3 separate regions of the Homo sapiens genome follow, and all the other regions are linked to region 2. The links are contacts of gene promoters, found by promoter capture Hi-C in blood cells and fetal thymus (Javierre and others, 2016). All regions are on one chromosome and are shown on one strand. The core of a region is centred on a gene start or on the middle of the fragment in contact, and the rest is flanking DNA. Distances in the headings are between cores, read along the strand shown.

Region 1 (3,494 bases), core at 708-3,207, 550 kb before region 2:
AAAGCCTTGGAACACGAAAGGAAAGGGTTGATAGGAGAGCCTGGAGTCACTTGGGCCTGGACTCCCCCGGCTCCCGACCTGTGATGAGGCTGCTATGGTCCATACTGGCGGCAGCATGGAGGAGGGTGATGTTGTAACACCAGGTAATTTCACGAGTGCAGTGAGAGTTGGAAGATTGATGTCTGTCTCTCACCCAGACAAGAGCCTCACACTATGCCTGGTGGCCTGTCCGAGAGAATGAGGTCACTCTAGGTGGGTCCTAGCTACTCTGTGGCATTTGCATTCAGAATAGACTGGAGTGGGGGGCATCGTTACGCCTGTAGACTAGCTGTGCCTGTAACCTAGCTGTGACGTATGGAGAGGGGAATCATGGTGGAAGAAGGAGAAAGTGGAGAAGGGGAAGTAGAAGGGAGAGGAAGAGAAGAGAGGGGAGGGGAGTGGGGAGGAAGGGAAGGAGTTCTTCACTGGGTGGCCTGCCCTTGACTGATTACTCTGCAATGTTGAGATGGCATAGGATAAGCCTGTTCATACTTACCAAATCCAAGTCATACGTCCTCTGGGTTTTCAAGCATTCAGGACACACATATCCTCCTGGTGACTTGGACCTCGGGGTCTGTTTCACCCTGATTTGCAGGGACTCCATATTACTCCTTTTCCCCTCTGCTCATCAATGATCACTTCTCTTAAAACTTTTCTTCTAGGATTGACACAGATCCCAACCATCAATTATTCAGACAGCTTGCCCAGTGGGGTCCTGTAGTCCCCTGGGTTTGCCAGCCTTCCTCATGCAGAGATGGAGGAGGGCATAGACTGAGTTTGGGAATGAGAGTCAGGGAAATGGAGATGGAAGACACCTGTGTCCTCTATACCTTCTTCTCACTAATTCTGCCTTAAATAATATAGAAGCGCCTGGCACCCTGCTGATTTCCCTGCTCTGGGCCTGCTATCTTCTCCCAACAACTGTGGCTGTTCCTCAGTACGTAAATGCCAAGGGCCTCCAGACAGCTCTGCCCATCACAGCTATCAAAAGCACACAAGTGCCTGTTAGCTCTAGCTATCCCCTCTGTCCCCACCAGGTTATCACTAACTTCTGCAGATTCCTGAAGGACTCGGCCAGAATGCATGACTGCTTAACACACTTCTTTTCTGCTCTTCACCTGCCTCTTCTCATTTGCACATCTGGAGCCGACAGTTCACTGCATGTAAACCTCCCAAAGCAGTGAGAAACACTGTGGCTGGCCAAGACTCCCCAAATTGGCAGCTGCATGGCATGGGCTGTCAAATATTACCTGTCTTTCGAAACAATACCACCCCGTAGTAGATTTTGTATTGTCTCAATCTGAACCTCTTGTCCCCCTCAACATTGCTGAGAGGTATCTGGTAGCAGGGAACAGGTATTTATTTTGCCTCCCCTCTGGTGCTAAGAACATAGCAGGTGCCTAATAAAAACTTGGTGACTTAATGAGAGTCTGTATCATTTCCTTTAGGCAACTTTACTCACCACTGCATGGCCTTTTCTGGTCAAGATGTGGAGTTGCAAGATCACTTAAATGTGAAGAGAGCTCAATTTCACCAGCCACTCATTCCCTGAGTCTTCAGGAAGCCATTATTTCCTTCCTGTTTCTATCAAGTAGCAAAAGATGTTTATGGAGCACTTGCTTTGAGTGTAAGCTACTGTGTTAGGGATGGAAATTTCTCTAAGCATCAGAAGGATCTTGAGTGAATCAATATATATTCCTTCTCCCCACAATGCCTGGGGCCTCTCTGGATGTCACGTATCCCTCTTCACTCACTACTTTTCCCCCTCCAGCACCTGGACGCTCCCACTCTAACCCATTCGGAAAGCTGTCCACTATAAGAAGCCCCAGAGCGAGAGCTTGACAGCCAGGCAGATTATGGCCAGGGGCTGAGGAGAGGGAGCCAAAGCTACACTTACTGCATCTGTTTCTCCAACTGCCACCTGCTCAGAAAATCGAACCTTCACAGGATTGGACCTCAACTTGGCCTTCTTCGCAGCACTGATGAAAGCAGATTTGGGGGACTGGAAAAAGAACAGAGAGATGGTGAGTTCTCCATATCTAGGGAAAGCCTAACCTTTGTCACGTCAGAGTTAAGATGTCCCAGTACAGGTACACTTTGCATTACTGATCAAGGAGTCAATAAACAAATATTAATTACCTATTAGTTGCAAGGCAATGTGCTAAATGCTTCCCTATGTAATTGGTGTGTTCTGAAACAGCTGGGCATGAATTGAATTTGGGTAGATTGAACCCCATTATTAATACTCTAGGCCTAGGGGAGTTTGCAAAAGTTCTTTAGTAATAACATACATTGAGTTTTTATATATTTGGTTTTCTTACAGTGAGATAGACCTAAAGGGTGTCTTTTTATTATTATTATTATATCTGAATATAAGCATCCCAAATAATTTACAGAAATGATCTTGTTCACCTCACAGACATGTCCTGCCCCTAGGAAGGAGTTGCATAATAAATACTATTTTAGATGTGGGAGAAAGGAGACCTAGCACTCCAAAAGGATTTATCCACAGTTACTACACTATTGGGGAATAGAGATGTGAGAGATTTAACCCAAGTCTTCTGGCTTTCTAGTTTTGGGCTCTGCACCACTTTGTTTATCCAATTCTGTAAGAAATGCCCAAAAAATCAGCCAGGCTTGTATTTATTTATTTATTTTTAGACGGAGTTTCACTCTTGTCGCCTAGGCTGGAGTGCAATGGTGCAATCTCGGCTCACTGCAACCTCCGCTCCCTGGGTTCAAGCGATTCTCCAGCCTTGCCTCCTGAGTAGCTGGGATTACAGTCATGTGCCACCACACCCAGCTAATTTTGTATTTTTAGTAGAGATGGGGTCTCACCATGTTGGCCAGGCTGGTCTTGAACTCCTGACCTTAGGTGATCCACCTGCCTCAGCCTCCCAAAGTACTGGGCTTACAGGCCACCATGCCTGGCTGGCTTTTTAGTTCTTGAAAACTCTCCCACAATTTTATCAGAAGCATGATTAGCAAACACTGGAAACTAAGCCTTTCCTGGGTGCCCCTTGGATTCTAGCTCCCTGCTGAGCTCTGTAAGGCCCAGCAATTAGGAATACAGGAGTCGTGCTGAGGGGCATCCTCATTGTCTTTGGGGGGGCGTTTATTCATTCTTTTGACAAATTTAGCAAGGGCCTACTACATGCCACACACTGTTCTAGGTGATGAGGGATAGAGCAGTGAATAAGACAGACAAAACTCCCTGGCCTCATGGAGCATCCATTCCAGCAGGAATAGACAGACGATAAATATCTTTTAGGTAGCAAAGAAGGACTTTGAGGAAAAATAAGGCAGGGTAAAGGACTACACAAGAGAATGAGTGAGTTAGAGTGGGAGTAGTGAGGGTATTATTTTAGCAATTTTGAAATACATAATACATTATTATTAACTATAGTCATCATGCTGTGCAATAGATCTCAAAAACTTATTCCTCCTGTCTAACT
Region 2 (3,458 bases), core at 939-3,438:
GTGTGATGGCATGTGCCTGTAGCCCCAGCTACTCAGGAAGCTGAGTTGGGAGGATTGCTTGGTCCCAGGAGGTCAAGGCTGCAGTGAGCCAAGATCGTACCACTGCACTAAAGCCTGGGTGACACAGCAAGGCCCTGTCTCAAAAAAAAAAAAAAAAAAAAAAAAGTCTGGGTATTAGAAGACAACAAAGAATTAGTATAAATTTTGTTTGGTATAAAAGTGGCATGGTGGTTATGTTTGTTAGAAAATGTCCATGTTTCTAAAGAACACTGAAGTATGTAAAATAAAATGGCATGATGTTTGAGATTTGCCCTGAAATGCTCACAGCTTACAGAAATGGAAAAAAAAAAAAAAGAAAAGAAAAAGAAAAAGAAGAAAAGGGATATAGAAAACAAGTGCCTTAGTCAGATCTGGCTGCTGTTAACAAAGTACCATAGACTAGGTTGCGTATTAACAGCAGATGATCAGGTTCTGGTACGGTCTCTCTTCTGGGTTGCAGAATTCAGACCCTTTCTTGAGTCCTCATGGAAGAAAGAGGATGAGAGAGCTTTCTGGGGTCCTTTTTATGAGGCACTAATCCCATCATGAGGGTTCCACCCTTATGACCTAATTACTTGGCAAAGGCCCCAACTCCTAATCCCAATACCTAATACCATCATATTGGGAGTTAGGATTTCAACATACAAATTTTGGCGGGGCACAAATGTTCAGTCCATTGCAGCAGGTGTGGCAGTCTTGATAATTACTGCATCTGAGTAATAAGTACATGGGATTCATTATATTGTTTTCTGTACTTTTGTGTATTTTAAAAAATTGAAGAAAAGATAACTAAAAAACAGACAAATGTAAAGCACCCAATGGGGGTAAAAAATGATGCTCAAAGGACATAAACAGGCATTTGTAGAAGAGGAGATGCAAATGTATACTAAACATTTGAAAAGATATTCAGCCTTACTGGTAGTCAGGAAAATGCAAATTAAAACAATAAGGAGATACTATTTTTTATTGAAAAGACTATCAAAAAGTTAAAAGATTGGGACCATCTAGTGCTATGAACATGACAAAAGAGCACTGATTGTTGCTGGGAGGGCAAATTGCCTATCTTACAGTATTTATTAAGATTAAACCATGCACATGCTATTAGATGCAGCAGTCTCATCTTTTGGAATTCATTCTGTGGAGATAACAGTATCAGAAATTAATGACCTGTACACGAGTGTGTGAAGGAGCATTTTTTGTATTGTCAAAATTAAAAAAAGAGGACAACCTAAATTACCATAAAGGAATGGTCAAATAAATTATAGTTCATTCATGCCATAGAACATTACATATGTTTTTAATGAATCTGTTTTTCTATTATCAGTGTATATTTATAGTATATTAGAAAACACAGGTAAGAAAAAAGGAAAAAGTGTCTAGTTCCAGACCCAGAGATATCATCTTGGTGTATATCAAGTGGTTTTCGTTGTGTGTGTGTGTGTGTATATATATATGTATGTATGTATGTGTATATGTGTGTATGCATGCATATATATATATGTATATATGTATACATATATATTTGTTTTTCCAATAGAAAAGGCATCATGCGTTCCACAATATGTTGTAACTCCTTGTTTTCTTCATTCCTTCATGAATATTTTTCTACATCAACACATACTTATCTACAAACATGGCCTTCAAGAACTGGATGGTATTTCATTTTATGCATACTTCATAACTCGACCAATCCCCTACTTGGCGGTATTTAAGTGAATCCAATTTCTCCTTTTAGAAACACCGTCCCTGCATGCTAGCAAGACTTTGGAGATAGTTTGCTAATTGCCTTCCAGAAAGTTCTGGGTGCTTCTGGAGGCATTTGAGGCAGAGTAGGTAGAATGTTTTCCCATCAGGCGAGCTTGCTATCTTCCCAGATAGCAACACTGTAGTCTTTAGAACTTGAAAGACTTGTCTTATCTTGCCTGTTAGTCATGCAGCCTAAGCGGGACTAGGTTCCAGAAATCCCATACATGCTCTCCCTCCTCTTGCTTCATTCACGCCCCTCCCCACGCGCCACCCCCGCCCCCCGCGCTTTCCCGCTCGGCGGCCTGGCCTATGGCATACGCCAATAATTAATTAGGGGCGGGGATCAAGGAGCGGCTGTCAGGAGGTCGCCATATTTCTGTACGGCCCAGAGGCAGCCCGGGCAGTCGCCGGGTCGGTAGAGGTGCTGACAGGGCGGAGCCGCCGCTTGCCTCAGCCGGCCTCACCCCTCCCGCCCGGGACAGGTGGCTGGAGCGCGCTCCGCCTCCGCCAGCTGCGAGTGGGAGCGAGGGAGGGCCGGTCCCGGACGGTCGCCGCCAGCTGCGAGTGGAAGTGAGCGAGGGCTAGTCCCGGACCGCCGGGCCAGGGGTCCGGCGGCAGCAGACGGGTACCGTGGCGGCCAAAAAAATGCTCCTGTACCGAGGGGCCCCCGCCGGCCCTGGCGCGCCGGGCTGCGGGCTGGCCCGGCCCGGCGGCGGCCCGCAGGCCTTCGGGATCCGCCTGAGCACGGTAGGTCCGGGGCCCGAGGGGGCGGACGCGCGCGCGGGCCCCTGGGCTGCGGGGGGCGCGCGGGGAGGGCCCGGCGGGCCGAGGCCTCACGCGGGTCGGGACCTTCTCTCGCCCCCAGATGAGCCCCCGCTACCTCCAGAGCAACTCCAGCAGCCACACGCGACCCTTCAGTGCCATCGCGGAGCTGCTAGGTGAGTGGCGAGGGCGGGCCCGGCCGTGTTCGCCCGAGGCAGTGGTGCCAGCGTGGTGCCGCGGACGCGAGAGGAATGCGCAGAGCCGCGCGGGGCGGGCCGGGGCTGGGGTGGGGGCCTCGGAACCGGCCCCGGCTCCGCAGGCGGAGGAGGGGGATGGCTCTCTCGCCAGGAACTAGGTTCCGCTCATAAAACGGAGGAAACGAGGTGTGTCTGAAGCGTTAAAGACACCAGTGTGGTTTTTCTCTCGCGCTCGTGACGTTCGGGCACTTTAGGATAGCTTAGTTAGTAATCAAAAGGAGATGCATAAAAACCTCGGGCCCTGAGGCAGCTGGGTCCGCAGGGGCTGGCGACCGACGGAGGATGCCTAGCTAGCAAAGGGGCGTAGAGGACCGAGGCGGGTCCTGGGGAAAGGTCTGGAAAGCGGAGTTCCTTAACTTTTGAGACAAGAAAAGTTAGGAATGATGGGACATCTCTTAAGAGATGACACGAGTGCATTTGGCTCCCTGCTACTGCGGAGGGCTGGGTCCGTGGTCCACGAGCGCCCTCACACCGCTGGAATGAATATTGAGGACTTAACCTCTCGCTCCACCGGTGTTTGCTTTTAAAGTGTTTTCAGTTGATCCCTTCAAGCCAATTACACCAGTTTTTGCAGTAGTGTGCTACTGTGTGGAAAGCAAAGAAGAAACGCAGTCCTGCACAAAACGCAGCAGCATACAGGGCGCATTATACATG
Region 3 (3,439 bases), core at 613-3,112, 530 kb before region 2:
CCCTCCAACTCCTTCTTCATTGTTATACCTTTGGCAGCTGAACCCCTCTAGGCCTGGGGGCTTCCTTCAGCTGTGCAGATTCTGTCTCATTTGAAGTTAAAGTAGGGGCTCCTGGTGGTCTATTACTGAATGTTAGCTGGTCCCCCTTTCCTCTGATTTCTGATCAGAGATTCAAAACCTTTTTGCCAAACTGCATGGCTGACTCCAGAGCCTTAGGTCAGCCACGGACTCCTGTACTAAATTGTTGTTGTTGTGTGTGTGTGTGTTTTTTTTCCTCTGTGCCCTCTAGTTGAAGAGAGAGCTTACAAAAATCTTTTTCTTTCCCTTGGAGGATTGCAAAATTCATCAAATTTCTGCAAGACCAGTTTGTACTCTGGCTGCTCCTCTTGACTGAGCGAGAAACTGTTGTAAACATCTAAAGCCTCAGGCCCAGCAAGTCAGGAATAAAGCTCCATTCCGTCTGTCTTTTTTGTCAATGCCTAGCAGATTCGAAACAAAACAGTACTTCAGTCTTTTTCCATTTCATTCATGATAGCAGGGCTTCATAGCTTAGGTGGGGCTTTGCTTGTTCCATCCCACATGGTCCCTTTCAGGCCCTACTTCCCCTGCATGGCATCAAACAGGCCCAGGTGCAAACCCTGGCTCTGTTGCTTTATAGCTGAGTGACACTGGACAAGCCACTTCTCTTTCATTATGCCTCAGTTTCCTCGTTTGCAAAATGGGAATGATATTACTTATTTACTTTGCAGGGGTGGCTGTGAGAATTAAACAATATGATGTAAAGCACATTGTAGATGCTTAATCAATGGTAGATGTTTGTTACTGCCACTCAAGCATTCAGAGATTCCATTATCCTCTCCTCTCCTATCCCACCTGTGGTCTGTATCTTGATTCTGGTCTTCAATGGCTGACCTGTTTCATGAGTATATACATGTCTCCACAGCCTGATGGTTAGGTTCTTGAGAACAGGAACTGTGTCTTGTACTTCCCGACAACATTGCTGGGCTTAGAGTAGGCAATCTATAGATACTTGTTGAATTAAATAGAATAGGTACATTTTTTTTTTGCAAGACATTATGGTTCTTTTATGAATGTTCTATGCAAAGGGAAGCTTTATTAAGACCCAGACACTGTTAAACAATCAACTGCAGCCTTTTTCTAGGGCCCCAAACAGCCTCAATTGTTGTGTCTATCAGTCTTAAAAGGCCAGCTCCCTCACACAGTTATTGGTTGGCAAGTCTTCAACCAGTCTTCATGAATTCTTCAGCAAGACAGTTAGAATGCTTGGAAGCTCTGCTTTTTGGGAAGATATGTGGGTGTTGGGAGACAGGAGTCAGGGCTAGGGGAACACTCTGAGGGACACCTACCTGGCCTCACAGATCGAACCACCACAGGCCTCTCACTGCCAGCCACGAAGCCAAAGCCATATATAGGGTCTCGGTGAACGGTCACTTGTCGCAGTATCTCTGCTGGCAGCTGCTCACATTCCATATCATTTGCGCTCTCTTCCTGCATCACATGACTGGGGAAAAGGGAAGGTGGGAGCAAAACAAGATGCACAGGGAACTAAGCCTCAGAACCAGCAGGGAGAGATGCCAGTTAGGGTTCTGGCCCTGGCACCCAGGAGTTTACAGCTTAGCTTCCTACATCCTCTGGAGCCAACAGAGATGATGACTGCCTCATATTTCAGATTGGAGAAAGAGAAATCTAGAAAGTAGAAGCTACTGTCTTCAGGGCTACAGCCAATAGAAGAAACTGACGTCATGAGCCTGAAATTAGAGTCAGACCCTTCCTCTCAGATATTGGAACTCCAGAAGGAACCCAATGCAAATATTCTGCAGAAGTTAACTGTCATCCTCCACTGACTTAGCTATTAACTCCGTAAAGGAAACCAAAGCCTTGCAGGAAGAGACCACAAGACAGGCAAGTAAGTGGCGGAAGAAATGTAAAGTTGTTCCAGAAGATGGAGCATCTTCATGAAGCCCTGATGCAATATTTTAAATTTTTTTTTTAATTTTTATTTTTTTTGAGACAGAGTCTCACTCTGTCACCCAGGCTGGAGTGCAGTGACACGATCTTGGCTCACTGCAACCTCCACCTCCCGGGGTCAAGCGATTCTCCTGCCTCAGCCTCCCGAGTAGCTGGGACTACAGGCATGTGCCACCACGCCTGGCTAATTTTTGTATTTTTAGTAGAGGTGGGGTTTCGCCATGTTGGCCAGGCTGGTCTCGAACTCCTGGCCTCAAGTGATCCTCTCACCTCAGCCTCCCAAAGTGCTGGGATTACAGGCGTGAGCCACCATGCCTGGCTCATCTTGATGCAATTTTAAACTTGAATACATCTTAAGTTGTATACAAAAATAAATGATTTAAGTAGCATATATAAATAAATGTGCTAATGTCTGGGACCAAAATTGTCCATAATGCCAACTTCTTTCAGTTAATGAGACACCTGGAAAAGAGTTCCTGTTGGCCAGAAGGGGAGCTGCATCCTGGGGCTGCCAGCAGGCCTGAAAGCCCAGAGGAACTGGGAGAAGAGAAATTACTGCCCTAACTCCAGGGAGAGATTACACATTGTTCTCCCGATTTCCACAACTTAAGTAACTAAAGCTTAGGAATTCCACAAAAGCTTCATAAATGTTCTCCATCAAGGGCCAGGGGAGGCATACTGCAGGCAAGAAGGGGTCTGAGTGTAGTATTCAAACAAAGAGCACTGAAGGATAAGGGTGTAGAGACACTGAGGCCTGTGATAGCACTGGTGCCAAGGCCAGGGAAGAAGGTAAAAGGAGGAATGGATGGTCAAGGAGAAGGGCAGGGCAGGTGGAGATGGAGGAGAGAGGGCCAGGGCCAAGTGGCCCAGAGCCTTAGCTCACTCATCTGGCACCACTACAGCCCCAGAATTTTAGGCCTTCTAGATAGACGGGTTTAAGTTTTCTAGCCTCAGTATGTGTATTTGCTAAAATTATGGTTCCAGGCAGAGCCCTTTGGAACAAGATACAGAGGGCCAGTAGCTAATTAATGAAACTAGTATAAGGTTTGTAAAAGAAGTAGGAGGTTTTGACATTCTGAGAGCAATGCAATTCTTTTTTTTTTTTTTTTTTTTTTTTTTGAGATGGAGTCTCCCTCTGTTACGCCAGCTGGAGTGCAGTGGCACGATCTCGGCTCACTGCAACCTCCACCTCCCAGGTTCAAGCGATTCTCCTGCCTCAGGCTCCAGGAGAGTAGCTGGGATTACAGGCGTGTGCTGCCCTGCCTGGCTAATTTTTATATTTTTAGTAGTGACATGGTTTCACCGTGTTGGCCAGGCTGGTCTTGAACTCCCGACCTCAGGCGATCCACCCGCCTCGGCCTCCCAAAGTGCTGGGATTACAGGCGTGAGCCACCGCGCCTAGCCGAGAGCAATGCAATTCTTTATTAGCTAAGAATATCAAATTCATCAG

What was found. The method cuts DNA at HindIII sites, captures the fragments that hold promoters and counts their contacts. A CHiCAGO score of 5 or more calls a contact.
Region 1: a contact is called between the fragment with the promoter of FRMPD3-AS1 here and the fragment with the promoter of MORC4 in region 2, in 2 of 17 cell types (total CD8 T cells and naive CD8 T cells). The highest score is 6.0, in total CD8 T cells.
Region 3: a fragment that was not itself captured here is called in contact with the fragment with the promoter of MORC4 in region 2 in 2 of 17 cell types (M2 macrophages and M0 macrophages); the score reaches 5.5 in M2 macrophages.

What each region holds. Positions count from the first base shown.
Region 1 is chrX:107,544,284-107,547,777 of GRCh38, reverse strand. It overlaps FRMPD3-AS1 (FRMPD3 antisense RNA 1), which reads left to right and starts at 1,957. Exons shown (of 2, transcript NR_046750.1): 1 at 1,957-2,063. FRMPD3 (FERM and PDZ domain containing 3) reads right to left here. Exons shown (of 15, transcript NM_001388459.1): 5 at 1,937-2,041. The HindIII fragment of the contact is 5,600 bases long and covers 1-3,494 here.
Region 2 is chrX:106,998,942-107,002,399 of GRCh38, reverse strand. It overlaps MORC4 (MORC family CW-type zinc finger 4), which reads left to right and starts at 2,188. Exons shown (of 17, transcript NM_024657.5): 1 at 2,188-2,532; 2 at 2,651-2,723. The coding sequence starts at 2,431. RefSeq lists silencers at 2,124-2,203, 2,214-2,423. The HindIII fragment of the contact is 4,977 bases long and covers 1-3,458 here.
Region 3 is chrX:107,524,665-107,528,103 of GRCh38, reverse strand. FRMPD3 (FERM and PDZ domain containing 3) reads right to left here. Exons shown (of 15, transcript NM_001388459.1): 2 at 1,368-1,522. The coding sequence starts at 1,515. The region is part of intron 1 of FRMPD3-AS1 (FRMPD3 antisense RNA 1); the gene reads left to right. Among named protein-coding and RNA genes, the nearest start is that of FRMPD3-AS1, 19 kb to the left of the region's middle. The HindIII fragment of the contact is 1,498 bases long and covers 1,114-2,611 here.